2 separate regions of the Homo sapiens genome follow, and region 2 is linked to region 1. The links are contacts of gene promoters, found by promoter capture Hi-C in human tissues and cell types (Jung and others, 2019). All regions are on one chromosome and are shown on one strand. The core of a region is centred on a gene start or on the middle of the fragment in contact, and the rest is flanking DNA. Distances in the headings are between cores, read along the strand shown. Region 1 holds the start of ABI2 (abl interactor 2). Region 2 overlaps RAPH1 (Ras association (RalGDS/AF-6) and pleckstrin homology domains 1).

Region 1 (3,084 bases), core at 534-3,033:
GAAGTTTGAGAACCACTACTACAGAAGATGGTTAAAGTGCTTAAGAATAAAACTAGTTGGACTAGACCAACATTTTCAATATCCTTTAATTTAGGTTCCACAGTGAAAACTCATACATTCTGCTAATGTATGTATCATGAAGCCAATATAACATTAGGGTTTGCTCCAGATATTTGTAATGATATGGTATTAAAGTGATTTTTTTTTTTTTTGAGACGGAGTCTCGCTCTGTCGCCCAGGCTGGAGTGCAGTGGCACGATCTCCGCTCACTGCAAGCTCTTCTCCCAGGATGACGCCATTCTTCTGCCTCAGCTTCCCGAGTAGCTGGGACTACAGGCGCCCGCCACCATGCCCAGCTAATTTTTTTATTTTTATTTTTAGTAGAGACGGGTTTTCACTGTGTTAGCCAGGATGGTCTCGATCTCCTGACCTCGTGATCCGCCCGCCTCGGCCTCCCAAAGTGCTGGGATTACAGGCGTGAACCACCGCGCCCGTCCTAAAGTGATTTTTTTTTGAAAGTATAAGTTTCCTCATCATCTGAATGAAAAAAATTCACTGTAGGAGGGCCAAGAGATCACCAGATTAAGAAAAGTGTTGAAACAATGGATCTTGTTCTAACTACACAAGTCTAAGATGGTACTGCCTGGAATCAACTTTGATTTTCCACAGCACAAATAAAGGTCATGGCTTCATATCTCAGCAATGGTCAGGAGTTTTAGTTTTTCCAGATTACATTGTGTGGGGTAGTCTGATTTAGGAAAACAAGACACAGTATCTGGAGAATAAAAACAGAATTATAACTCTGCAAGAGGAAAATTATCTGCCTTGAATTTTTGTAGCACTTAATGTTTTTTCAAGGTATTTTCACAATAAACGTTGATTTTATCTATGTAACAGCCCTGTGAAGAAGGCAATTACTACTAGCAAAATCGTTTTCAAAATTTTAAATACTGAATCCATGAATAGGAAAAAGGACAGCGAAGTTGATAGCATTAGAGAAATGACAGAAAAGGTTATGAGTGAGGAAGCGAATCATAGAAATGGCAAACATAAAAAGCTGAGGCCCACGGCACCGCAAACCAGGAGAGAAAGGGGCTAATCTGGCAGGGGAGAACAGCGTTAGTGGGGAAGTGCAAAGAGGCAGGGGCGCAGGAAAGCTGGGGTTAGGAAACTGCAATTCACTGCAACAAAGAGGATGAGGTCAAATCTGAGAAAAATGAAGTCAGGTGGCATTGAAAGCTGCGTGGAAGTTTTATTCCTGCCCTGTTGAGGTGTGATCTTTCACAGAGGAGGGTCCCAAGAGTGGAGGCTGTGCCCTCCTTCGGCCTCCCGTCAGCAGCAGAGGGAGAAAAGCCTCGAGAAGTTCCCTAGGCCGATGACCTCCATGGGGACGGAGCCGAGATGAGTCCCGGAGGGAGCCGGCAGGAAGCCAGCTGAGCAGGGTGGTGTGTTCCCGCCGGGCTAACAAAGGCCGCCGGGAGGTGGGGGCTTCTCCAGCCGCTCCAGCGGCGGGCGGGCGGCGGAAGGGTTAACTGCACCACCAACTCCCGCGCGCATCCCGGCCCCTACCCCCGCCGTCGCTAGGAGACGCCGGAAGTGGGGGAGGGGCCGGCGGCGCGGGCGAGGGTGGGAATCTTTTTCGGGCTCCCGGGGGCGGAGGGAAGGGAGCGCGCGTGCGCGCGCCCGGCCGGCCGTCGCCGCGGTGACCGTCCTCGGAGTCCGTCGGCTCGCGCCCCGCCCCCGTCGCCCCCTCCCCTGTCGCGCGCTGGGGCTGTTTCTCGCTCCTTCCGAGTTACCGCCGCCGTCGCCGCCGCTCCTCCTCTCCCGGTCCTGGGTTTCCTTGGCGCTGCGGCCGCCGCTCCCTCTGCGACCTGTATGAGGAGGAGGAGGAGGAGGATGTGAAGATGGCGGAGCTGCAGATGCTGCTGGAAGAGGAAATCCCGGGGGGCCGCCGGGCCCTCTTCGACAGCTACACAAATCTGGAACGGGTGGCCGATTACTGCGAGAACAACTACATACAGGTGCGAAGCATCCCCAGCTGGGCCGCGTCGGGGACCCCCCCGCCGGGGGCCGCGCGCCTCGGGGCGTGGGGCCGAGGCCGCCTCGGGGACACGGCCCAGCGGAGCCCCCGATGGGGGTGGGGAGCTGGGTGAGGGCTGGGGCTGGTGAATGGGTGGGAATTCTCCGGCTGGAGAAACTGCATTTTAAAAACCTTTAAAAAAGCGGTGAAGCAGTTCTCGGCGTGGTGCGTGTGTCGCGTCCCGCCTCCTCGCCGCTCCCGCCCTCGGCCGCCCCCGCACTCCGCGCCGGTCAGCGTTCCGGATGGCGGAGGGGGCGGAGAGTGGCATTTTCTGTTTGACGGAATCCTGCTCCCCACCTTAGGGTAGGGGTGTCGCGGGTGTTGACGGGTTACCTCCATCCCCCAAATTCTGGATGATTTTTAAGGGGTTATCTTGCTGCAGAGTGAAGTGCTTCAGGCTTCAGTTTTCTGTTCCTGTGAATGCTTCAGAAACCCTTTCTTAATATTTTATGTTCTAAAGGGGATACGGTAGAAGAGCAGCAGTTTCTTGTTGGAAGTTAATGCCATTTTTTTCCCTATGGAGAAGGATGATGAGCTGATTCCCCCCTCCCTCCTAGTTCTGTTAGAATAGGCAGTTTTCCTGGGGGTGGGAGGAGGACAGACTATGACTGTTTCTTAGAGAGAATTGGGAAGATGAACCTCCTGGTTTAATTTTTTTTTTTTTTTTTTTTTTTTACCGTGATGGATCGTTTGGCTCAAGGGCTGATAGTGGTAGGGGCGTGTGTATGGAGGCGGGGGATACCGGATGGTATGAGATCCAGCTGCTCCTGGATGAAGCAAAATATTCTGTGGATTAAAAAAATCCTTCTTTAAAAATTACTTGAAAGGATAGCAGGTTAAAAGGCACAGTTTGCAAAATCTAAAATCTTTTGCTTTTTTTTTTATGGTTATTTTGAATTATGGGTTCTGCCTCCATTTTTTTTCTTTCCCGTTTAAATTCTCTTGGGATAAAGATGGAAATGGAAGCAATATGTTAAACTGTTTCTTCACAGTCTTTTTTTTTT
Region 2 (3,094 bases), core at 415-2,914, 130 kb after region 1:
GAGAAATAGCAACTCTGATTTCTGTTGGTATAGAGTAGAATAAACTTTGAAAAGTTACCTGTGTATGGGCATCATCACTAAAATGCTTAACACCAGTCTCCTCCTTGCCTGTCCACTTGTCATAAACTGTCCTTACCCAGACTGTGAGGTGGTATTACATTCAACAGCTGGCAAATATGTTTTGGGATATCTAATGAAAGCTACGTTAGAGGATCTGAAAGGTTTAGAAATTCATAAGTACAACAAGTAAGGCAAATTTCCTTAAAATATACTGATCTAGGTGCAGAAAATTTATGTTCTGGCTTTTTAAGAAGAAATCCCATATTCTCTGGGACTCATTTATTAATAATCTCATTTACTTGACTCAACTAAAAATCTGAATTCTGGCTGGGTGCAGTGGCTCACACCTGTAATCCCAGCACTCTGGGAGGCCAAGGCGGGTGGATCACGAGGTCAGAAGTTCAAGACCAGCCTGACCAACACGGTGAAACCCCGTCTCTACTAAAAATACAAAATTAGCCAGGTGTGGCAGCACGCACCTGTAGTCCCAGCTATGCAGGAGGCTGAGGTAGGAGAATCGCTTGGAGGCGGAGGTTGCAGTGAGCCAAGATCACGCCACTGACTCCAGCCTGGGCAACAGAGCGAGACTCCATCTCAAAAAAAAACAAAAAACAAACAAACAAAAAAATCAAACTGAAGTCTACTCATTAGTACACAGTCATCCCTTGTTGTCCATAGGAGATTGATTCTAGGATCTCCCCTGTATACCAAAATCTGCTGATGCTTAAAGTCACTTATAAAAATGGGGTCACATTTGCATATAACCTATGCACATTCTCCCTTGTACTTTAAATAATCTCTAGATTACTTACAATACCTAATACAATGCCTACCTATCATTTAATTTGCATGAATTCAATGCAGTACTCAAGCGTGGCATATTCAAGTTTTGTTTTTTAGAACCTGGAATTATTTTTCTGAATATTTTAGATCTGCAGTTGTGCAAATCCACAGATGCAGAACCCATGGATATAGAGGGCTGACTGTACTTCTTTTTCTTTTTCTCTTTTTTTTTTTGGAGACGGAGTCTCACTGTCACCCAGGCTGGAGTGCAGTGGCACAATCTCGGCTCAGTGCAAGCTCCGACTCCCGGATTCACACCATTCTCCTGCCTCAGCCTCCCAAGTAGCTGGGACTACAGGCGCCCGACACCACGCCCGGCTAATTTTTTGTATTTTTAGTAGAGACAGGGTTTCACCGTGTTAGCCAGGATGGTCTCGATCTCCTGACCCTGTGATCCATCCACCTCAGACTCCCAAAGTGCTGGGCTAATTTTTTGTATTTTTAGTAGAGACGGGGTTTCACCGTGTTAGCCAGGATGGTCTCGATCTCCTGACCTTGTGATCAGTCCACCTCAGCCTCCCAAAGTGCTGGGATTACAGGAGTGAGCCATTGCGCCTGGCCTGTAATTATTTTTCATAACTGCCTACAAAAAGATCTGTTGATACCCCCAAATATGTATTCTTCACTAAAACATCCAGAAAAGATGTGTCATGGTTATGCCATTTGAAGCATAACTATGCAATATCTTTAACACTGCTGCTATTTTTCTTCATTACTACTTTTTATTGTGGAGTTGTTTTCCCTCACCTACTGAATTTTGTAAAATGTCTAGGTATTGGGAAGTATTAACTCAAACATTATTTTGGAATAAGGAAAGATGTCAAATAAATCAAAGTATGTTTATTAGAATGTAAAGCCATTTGTAATCAAGGTTACTGGGATGTTTAAAAAGTAATTCCAAAAGAAGTGTCAACTGGATAAATGGCTGGAGTAGAGAAGTACTTTTCTTTGATGAGATGACAAACTCACCAAATAAACAGCTGGGTTCAACACAGCTCTGGATTACAGAGCCAAAAGACCTGGTAACTCACTAGAGCTATACTTCTGCTTCCAAAACGGCTCACCCCATCTGGTTCTGGAGGACTGGGAACCTCTTTAGGGCCTAACACGTGGGCACCAGCTGACTTTCCACCTCAGCAGCAGCAGCAGCAGCAGTAGTAGATGATGCTCCTATAGGATTTTGCAGGTATATCGCTCCAACCAGGTGTTTACCAGTCTTTTAACTCTAACTTAGCAGTAATCGAATAAAATAGGAGACATATTTACAAATCCTGACCTCTGTAAGTTGTTTGGTCTTACCTGTGGGTTTTTGAAAAGTGCATATTTTTCTATACGCTCCATAAATATAAGCTTGTTTTGGCTATCTCTTGTCCAATTAAGAAGATTTTCAACCAAGTTTTCATGGTCTTCAAAGATTCTCTCTGTCCCAAAATAAAATATCCGTATTTTGTTAGTATTCATTAGAGTTGCATGAAAGACATGAAACTTTGTGAAGTAGTTAACCTCAGAACCACATAATCTTAACCGACATTTTAGCACCTAAAAATTATCTGGTATTCCCTAATTTTTCAAACAAAGAAATATGCCTTAATTATGTTAATGACATAACCAAGGTCACACAGCTGATATATGGAAGAACTAGGACTAGAATCTAGGCTTTCTGACTTGCAGGACACCATTCTTCAGTCTTAAACATTTTCCCATCCCACCCTTAAAAATAAAACATTAGTTACATCTTATAAGTTTCGATATCAAGTATTTCCTATTTAGTTCTTGGCATTTAAAACATTTCCAAGATGATTTCTTCTTTGATCCATGACTGTTGTTTAATCTTAAACATATATGTATTTTCTAATTTCCAAATTAGAAATGAAAGAACATGTCCTGTATACTGAACATATGTTAAAGAACACGTTCTAGATATGGATTCTTTGAAATTTGTTAATGTGCTTTGTTTCCCGAGTCAAATGCTGGTTTAAAGACTTCAGTACAAATTCAAGTTAACATAATAATTTTTAGTAAATGCATCAGTCTATCCAGTTCTTATTTGAAAAAAAAAAAACTATTTTGTTACCTTTTAAAAAAACTTTGTTTTAGCCATTATAAAATCTGAAGTGAATTGGAAATGATCTTGTATTCAAAGAACTCTTAAAACACTTCAGAAAAAAATAATGTAAAGAAGCCAAATTAT

The links. The method cuts DNA at HindIII sites, captures the fragments that hold promoters and counts their contacts. A contact is called where the count stands out against the background at its distance.
Region 2: a fragment that was not itself captured here is called in contact with the fragment with the promoter of ABI2 in region 1 in 1 of the 25 tissues and cell types used here (stomach).

The regions. Positions count from the first base shown.
Region 1 is chr2:203,326,611-203,329,694 of GRCh38, forward strand. ABI2 (abl interactor 2) reads left to right here and starts at 1,784. Exons shown (of 12, transcript NM_001375670.1): 1 at 1,784-2,021. The coding sequence starts at 1,905. RefSeq lists an enhancer at 671-1,641 and silencers at 1,443-1,782, 1,539-1,726, 2,003-2,352. The HindIII fragment of the contact is 25,150 bases long and covers 1-3,084 here.
Region 2 is chr2:203,457,705-203,460,798 of GRCh38, forward strand. RAPH1 (Ras association (RalGDS/AF-6) and pleckstrin homology domains 1) reads right to left here. Exons shown (of 14, transcript NM_213589.3): 7 at 2,203-2,324. Among named protein-coding and RNA genes, the nearest start is that of RAPH1, 76 kb to the right of the region's middle. The HindIII fragment of the contact is 4,574 bases long and covers 1-3,094 here.